2 separate regions of the Homo sapiens genome follow, and region 2 is linked to region 1. Evidence: promoter capture Hi-C in 16 types of primary human blood cells and fetal thymus (Javierre and others, 2016). All regions are on one chromosome and are shown on one strand. Each heading gives the region's core, a stretch centred on a gene start or on the middle of the fragment in contact. The rest is flanking DNA. Distances are from core to core; before and after follow the strand shown. Region 1 holds the start of CSPG4 (chondroitin sulfate proteoglycan 4). Region 2 holds the start of TMEM266 (transmembrane protein 266).

Evidence for each region. Contacts are between HindIII fragments. The CHiCAGO score rates a contact against its expected background, and 5 or more counts as called.
Region 2: the fragment with the promoter of TMEM266 here is called in contact with the fragment with the promoter of CSPG4 in region 1 in 2 of 17 cell types (M0 macrophages and M1 macrophages); the score reaches 5.9 in M0 macrophages.

What each region holds. Positions count from the first base shown.
Region 1 is chr15:75,710,705-75,714,612 of GRCh38, forward strand. It overlaps CSPG4 (chondroitin sulfate proteoglycan 4), which reads right to left and starts at 2,144. Exons shown (of 10, transcript NM_001897.5): 1 at 1,964-2,144. The coding sequence starts at 2,051. The HindIII fragment of the contact is 21,900 bases long and covers 1-3,705 here.
Region 2 is chr15:76,058,374-76,062,281 of GRCh38, forward strand. TMEM266 (transmembrane protein 266) reads left to right here and starts at 1,612. Exons shown (of 11, transcript NM_152335.5): 1 at 1,612-1,643. It also overlaps a transcript of NRG4 not described here. RefSeq lists a silencer at 605-654. The HindIII fragment of the contact is 3,394 bases long and covers 1-3,153 here.

The DNA of each region.
Region 1 (3,908 bases), core at 894-3,393:
AGGGGCATCCAGGAGGGGTGGGAGGGACGCCTTCCTCAGGCAGGGGCTGCCCCTACTGCAGAAATCAGGGCAGGCAGCTGGACCAGGAGTGGTGACAGAGATGGGTTGCTGGACGGGAGCTCTCACAGCCCCTCCTCATTTCCGAGTCCTCCTAAAGGCAGGGGATGGTGTAACTTTATAAAACCCCACAGCACCATGCTGCTCTCTTGCCCTAAAACCCTTGTGGCATCTCCTTTGCCAACAGGGCATAAGGCCGTGGGCTTCATTTTGCCATTTAAGGCTTCTGTGCCCCAGCCCAGTGGTTCTCCCTGGCCTGTGCTCGAAATACGCCTCCCAGCCAGGCTGCTGGCCTTCCTGTCTCAACACCCCTCTGCTTACGCCCACCTTGGTGCCTCTGAGTCAGCGCCCCTGCCTGGAGGACTGACTCCCTTCCCATCCACCAAGGCTTGGTTTGAGGCCCACCCTGTGTCCTGCCCCAGCTTGCCCCTGCTTTTCTCCCCTCTGTACTTTTCATCCAGATTTTTGCTGTTTGAGATTTAATTTGCCTTTCTGCCTCCTGAATGAGTCTCAGTTCAGCCTCTCAATTTCCCGTGCCCCTGCGAGCCTAGCACCATGCCTGCATGCTGTCAGGGCTAAGAAGGTATTTGAGAATGGCTCTCAGTTGAAGCCCAAGGAGGTGGGGGTACTGGAATCCCTCCTTGGCTGGAGGCTGGGGCCTGAATGAGCTGACCACCCTGGTCACCTTGGATGCTCCCTTCCCATCTCCCTGGCGGCCCAGCCCATCCCTCAGGCCCTGAGATCTTAGGGGATCTGGTCCCTGCAGGAACAGGGAGCCTGGAGATCCAGCCCTGATTCACCCCGCGGGGGTCCTCCCTTGACTCACTTCCCTTCTGGGAACCATGTGATGCCCTCTTTTAGAGCTGGCTTCTCCATCTGAAGGAGAGAAGGGTGTGGCCTGGGCCCTTGTGAAGGAGGCTCAGGCCCTGCCTTTGCTCCATGTTGCTCTTGGGAATGATCTCGAAGGTGTAGCTGAAGCACTGAATCACACGTGGGTAGTGATGATGGATGGGCCCTAAGGCCACAGTTCTTATGGCATAACTAGAGCTGCCTTCGCTGAAGGAAGAATGCTGTCATGTTGGGGTTTCTGGCATCGGGACAGAGAGGGGATATATCCCAGCACTTCTCGGAAAGCGAACTTCCATTCAGCCTCTGCTGGGTCAGGCATCAGTGCTGGGATGAGGAGGTGTGGCAGGGGGTGGTCCAGAGCTATCTGTAGGACAAGCCCCGCTGAGGGGCACCAGCTCTCCCTCTAGGAGGCTGAGAGTGGGTAGTGGGTGGGGGGTCCTGCCTGTCACCAACAGGAGGAGGGAGAGGAGAGAATGAAGAGGGGAGGTGGCAGATAGACGGATCTGCAAGGAAGCAAGGGGAGGAAAGAAGGGGCAGAGCTGGGGGGCAGCTGGAGGGGTGTGGGGGTGCTCCTCACAGGGGAGGGCAGGGTGGCTCATTCCTCGTTTCCCACCTTGTAGCACTCCCCATTCCTGGCCCAGGGCATCTGAAGCTGGAGGACCCACTTCTCACTGTCGCCGGGTCCCTTTGGACCCCAACATACTCACCCCAAACTTGCCTGGCAAACAAAGCTCGGCCAGCATTGGGGTGGCCCCACTGGTGTCTCAGACAATCCAAACGGGCAAAGCCACGCCCTAGGCAATCCATGCCTGGGGCGCCTGCTCCCGCCCCTAACTGGACAGCCTTGGCTAGCTAGAAACCCCATAACCTGAGATAGCGGGGTCCCGTGTCCGCCCCAGGATTGAACCCCTGGCGACCCCAGCTAGTGGTGGGAGAAGCGCAGCCTGCTTGACTCCCGATCTGGGGGCCACTTCTGGCTCCTCCTGTCCCTTTTCCCTCCCGGAGGAACCCCTCTAGTTCCGCCAGGCTGGGTCGGGGTCTCAGGCCCCTCACTCACCCGCGGATGCAAGTCTGGCCAACATAGTCAGGGTCAAAGCCAAGGCCAGGCCGGGGGCTGGAAGTGGGGGCCGCGGCCCGGACTGCATCCCGGCGGGCTGGGCGGCAGGACTTGCGAGGAGCCAGCGGAGTCCTGGGAGCTGGGAGCTGAGTGGAGCGAGCGCGGCTCTGCTCCTGGGCGCGGGCCGGCTCCGGGTGTCCGCGCACTTAACTCCGGGGGCGGGGCAGGCGCAGACCCGCGCGCCCGCTCGGGTTTCAGGCTTGGACTCCCCCACCTGCCCCCACCCTCAACCTTCTTAAAGGGCCCGTGCGGGGCTGTTCCTCTCTGGGGCAGGGGTGAGGGGGCCCTTGCAGCTGGGCCAGACCCCAGCCCCACCCTAAAGACTTAGAACAAAGTCATAGAGAGGCCCAGACACCCTGAACTCTGGCCCCAAGAGCCGAGCCCGGGAGACCCCCTCAGGGAGGAGGCATGAACTGTCCCAGCCCCTACTTCCCTCCTTTCTGCCTTTGCGGGAGTTCAGGAGACCCCTCCACAGGCACACTCCAGCCTTAGGAGGAAGGACAGACACCAGCCACCCTCACAGGCGGCTTTTGGGCTGCTTTGCCTCGGAGGTCCCCTAGGAACTTCTCCAGACTCCAGAGGCACCACCCGAGGTCCTGTGGGGCACTGCCCATGGCTGCAACAGTGACCTTCTCTGCCTGGAAGGGCCTCACCTCAGTCTCCCTGTCTGTAAGGGAGAGATGTCTGGATTTCCTCGCAGGGCAGAAGAATTCTCAGTCCCGCCATGACATTTGCCTCAAAATAACCTTGCAAGGTGGGTGAGGAGCATCCCCTCCCCCATTTCATGGAGGACGAAAGTGCAGCTCAAGCTGAAAGTGGCTCTTACAAGACTCCAGGTGGAAAGTAGGTCCCTGGCCGTTTGGTGCCAGAAGCCCAGGCCTCCTGACCCCTGAATCCGGGTGTTTCAACTTCCCGAGGCTGCCTCCTGGAAATCTGGCCCTGGATTTGGCTTCTACCTAACAGCTTCAGGCTGGGGCCCTTCTGCTGGCTCCCTTCCAGGCAGCAACATCAGCCTAGTCCCAAACAGGAGGAGAAAGGGCAATGTTACTTAGCTTCCGGTGCCTAGAGGATCTGCGTGTTCTCTGTCCAGTCCCAATGTTACCGGGCCTTGGTTTACTTCCTCCATTCAGGTCCCTCCATCTATCTGCTCCAGCCCATCTCCAGCCCAACCCCACCTTGCACCCTCTTCCCAGCTCTTCCCTTTGACCAGTAACAGCCCAGCACTTCATACTTTGCAACGAAACTGAGACCTGTTTTGCAGATGAAGAAACTGAGGCTGAGAGAGATTAAGGGACTGGAGCTAGTCTACATAGCTGCTGAGATGTGGGGCCAGGTCTTTGACCCTAAGTGCAGTGCTCAGGTGTGATGGTGCCTGGTCCATGTGGGGGTTATGAGTATTGGTCTTGAAACCAGAGAGACCTGGGTTCAAATCCCAGCTCCCTTACTTGGTTGTCAAACCTTGAACAAGTCCCCTCACCTCTCTGTGGCAGTTTCCTCATTTGTAAAATTGGGTTAATGAGGATTAAATGCTTTAATGTACCTCAAGTCCCTAGCCCAGGGCCTGGCATACGGTAGGTGCTCAATAAATGCTTATCCTTTCTCCTCCGTCTCTGTCATCCTGCACATTCCCTGTGATTCATGGTTTACATACAGCTTTACACATATCACCTCCCTTGTTGTAAAGCTTGAACTTTCTCCTCCAGAGGCTGCTGCATACAGTAGGTGTACAATAAATGCCTGCTGTAGTTGACTAAGAAACCAATTGCTGCTGTTCTGTAGGGATTTTGGCAAACCTAAGAGCTTCCATCCAGGTGCCCTAGGAGGCCTGGGATGGAGGCTGTGCTAGGCTGGCCTCAGTGGCGGTAAAGGCATTGATTCCACAATT
Region 2 (3,908 bases), core at 362-2,861, 350 kb after region 1:
GTAGGAAATGCTGAAAGGCGAAGGAGGATCTGAAGAAATTTTACATTTTTTTCTCAGTTTGCCAAAAGTAGATACTCCCTGTATAGATATTCCCGTATAATCCAGGGAAGGTAGTCCAAGACCGTGGGGCAATTCCAAGAGGTGGTTTTGAAGTCCTTCAACTCTACCATTTTCATTTTATCCATACTAAAAAAGCTACGGCAGGAAGAAAAGACAAAGGACATTCCTGGGAGGCCAACTGGACCTAATCAAATAAAAACACTTTAGAAGAGGTACAAGAATCAGAAATCAAACCTATCTGCAGAGCCAAAAGCCATTCTGAAACTCCGTGTCCTAGAAACAAGGGTTTCCCATCTTTTCAAATATTTTAAGATAAAAATCGCAACACCCTATAGGAAAATGGCTATATTTTTAGCAAGAATTGGTGGAGAAGACAAACGATAATAAGCTACTATGAATCCAGAAGCTGCTTAAATGGCCGTATTCACAGCAGCCCTTGCAAACATTAATTAGAGTAGTACCCATTATGGGTGAGGACTTTTTTTTTAACCACAGAGAATATCTGTGGGTGCATCCAGATTGCTCAGTGGTTCCGTTTAACCCACCCGGTAACTGGCAATCATGGCCCTAGGACAGGCTTCTCCACCGGGGCGATGCTGCCTCCAAGGGGCGCAATGTTACTTTTTATGCATCAAGCACGGATAACACATACAGCACATAAGCAGGTCGACAGTGTATCTGCGGTACTGGGATTTCACGGGGAAAGGAGATGGGGACGTGTAAAAAGCCTTTTTAAGAGTCAGATAACGAAAAACGGAAAAAGAGGAGAAACACGGTCCTACAAGGGTCCTGAGCTGAGGCCATCAAATGAATGTACTGACAGGTATTTTTCTCCCAGGCAGCCAACTGAGAGTCAAGGCACTCTGACCGTGCTATGACTCCGGCCACACAGAAAGAGGTGTTTTCCCCTCGGTGGCCTCCAAGCGCAGCGGGCACTGCGTGCCATCCGCTCCCTCACCGGGCGCCCCGCGCGGATGAAACGGAGCAACTGGGAAAGAGCTCTGGAAACTGCAAAGCGCTGCGCCAAAGCGACGGGAGGTTCCCATTCTCAGCTGTACGAAATCCCGCGGGGGTCCTCCGCTTCCCCGAGCGACGCCCTCGGCCTCCGCACTTGTTGCTTCTGCGCCCCGCCTGCGTCCCCGTCAAACCCACCCTTCGCGGCCCCCTCGCCTCTCCACACGCTCGCACTCAGGCCCCGACCCTGCCCCGCGACCCCCTCACCCACGCCACGAAGCCCGCTCTGCGTGGCAGCCCCGGAGACAGCCGAGCCCCCGCCTCCGCCCCCTGCCCAGCTCAGGCCGCCAGCCCCTGCCAGCCGACGCCGCGGTTTCCTAGACAGCCGCGCCGCCGTTCCGCAGCCTCGGGGGCGCGCGCGCGCGGCCGGCGGGAGGCGAGGGCGCAGGCGCGGGCTCGGCCAAGCCGCCGGCGCGAGGCCTCGCGCGCGCCCCCGAGCGCGGTGGGCGGAGGGGCGGAGGGAGCGGCGGGGCCGCGAGGGGGCGGGGGGGCGGAGAGGGGAGCCCCGGGAGCGCGAGCCGCGGCCGGCGCCGCTGCAGAGCCGAGCGAATCCCGAGCCCGGGCAGCAGGTATGTGTCCTCGCAGCCGGCCGCGGCCAGAGCTTCCCCTGCCTCACTGCCCGAGTCTTGTGGTCGGGGCGGGGGGTGGGGGGACCGGTCAAGGTTTGCAGGATGCGTGCTCGGAAGGGCTGGGATCTTGCCGCTGACCTTCATCCCCCTGGCCGGGGGAGCCAGGCGAGGGTGCGTGGGGCAGCCCAGGGCTTCAGCTCCAGCCTGGAGACCTGCTTCTTGTCACATGCTTCTTATTTATTTTTGCAAACTGCCCTGGTTCGGGTCCAGCTGCAGATGCCTTACCTCCCATTCTTTGCCTCCGTGTGCCATCTTGCATTTATTAATAAAACATGCAAGCTGGAGGGGGGGGTTGCTGCTGGGGGGAATCCCATTGCAGTATGGCAAGCGGGCGCCTATTTTCGGTTTTCAGACGTGGTATAGAGGTGGAAATCCCACACCCTGAGGATTTGTGGCTTGGTTGGTCGTGACCACTTCCTAGTGGGCTTCCCCCGTTTGTCGGGAGGTGCCCCAGCGGCAGAATGGGCTGTCTGGAAGGGATGGTGGGTCTTCACCGTCAGGCCAGAATCCCCTTCAGGGGACAGGTGCAAGCTAGGGCAGGCAGTTCCCTGCTTGCTAACTTGCCAGGGAGGCTTAAACCTAGAAAATTGTCTCCCTTGATGGCCGAGAAAAGATGGCCTTCAACAGAATCCCTGGGACTTGCATACTCAAACTCATTACGGTTTTGCATCTGAACATGACTAAAGCTAGCCACCTGTTGGAAGTCAGACCCCATGAAACACCCCCGTAATCTAGCTCACCCATCCCTGTTTCACAGTCACCAATACTGAGCTAGCAATAGGCCCATATGGGTTCCCTCTATCCTCTTTAATGCTGCTTGGCTTTTCTTTTAAAATAAGACCTACCTATGATTTGATGCCCTATATGTGAGAGGTTGAAATTATATGATTTGTTTATATTCCATACACCTATCACATCATATCCTAAAGACTGAATTTCTCTTCAGTGCATGTGTTTATTTCCCTGGCTTTTCACCTTGCTTTGAACAACAGTGGGAAAATGGGATGTATATAACTGCTTACCTCCTCCCCCAAATACCTCCACCCTAAAATATTGTGATGAAAAGAATAGTAAGAGCTAGAAGCAAAAAATGAAAATGGTTATCACAAGATGTTGGGATATGATAGCTGAACCGTAATTGCTTCTAAAATGGTCAGAGTGTCACATCTAATCACGAGAAGGACATGTTTCTTAAATGTTCATATGTACCAGGTACTGAGCTAAAACTATTTGTGTATGAGCTCATTTAGTCCTCACAGCAAACCTGCTATGTCCATGTTGAAGATGAACAAGCCAGGACTTAGAAAGGTTAACTAACTTGCCCAAGGTCACACAGTCAGGGACAGGGTAAGGATGCAAACTCAAGCACATGGGGATACTGGAGGTGGGGAGCCCTGAGGGGGCTTTTCCTCCAGGTGCGGCTGCTCCGTGTACCTTTTCATTAAAATCAAGCTTATGCATGAGCATGTTGGCTTGGGTCTAATTTTCCATTTCATAGATTCTGCACCAACTTTGTGGCTTTCCAGTAAGAAAAGCAGTTGTTTCAGAATGGATCAGTATGGAATTTTTTGAGGTGGCACTAAACCTATAAAAAGTGGGGTCCAAGATGTGCTTCCATTTAATTCTCACACACAAGGAGTTGAGTTTAAAAAGTTGTTTCCCTCCAGATTTAAACCCATAAAACGTATATGCATTAAGTAGAATGAATCACTCCCATTTTCCATTATCGCATCCCACCCTACCCTCCTTGCTGCCCTTCACACTATCTTCTGGTCTCACTGCCAGTCATCAGAGCAACATTGTCTATCACACTTGCCTGTGAGTGCCTTAATGGGAGGAAGGAATCCATCCGTACCAGCCGTGGCTCGTAATCCAGTCTCTCTATGATTGTAGCAATTATGCATTCAAAGTTCTTGGAATCTCTGCATTCAGCTATGGATGTGTATTTAATCATTTTTTTAAAGTGCATTATTATAATGCAGGTATTGGATTTTGTTAAACATTCCTAGCAGTTCTCATGGACTTAGAAATTGCTGTAGTTGCATCAGTGAAAATTCACCCAGTGGGGCTAATAGCTTTTCTACTCAGGTCACATAGTTGAGATAGTGGTGAGAAAGGTATAGGTGAATAGAAGGAATTATTTGGAAAGTATATCCCATGCAAATAACAGCTTTTAATTATAAATTGATGAATAATATTAAGTAG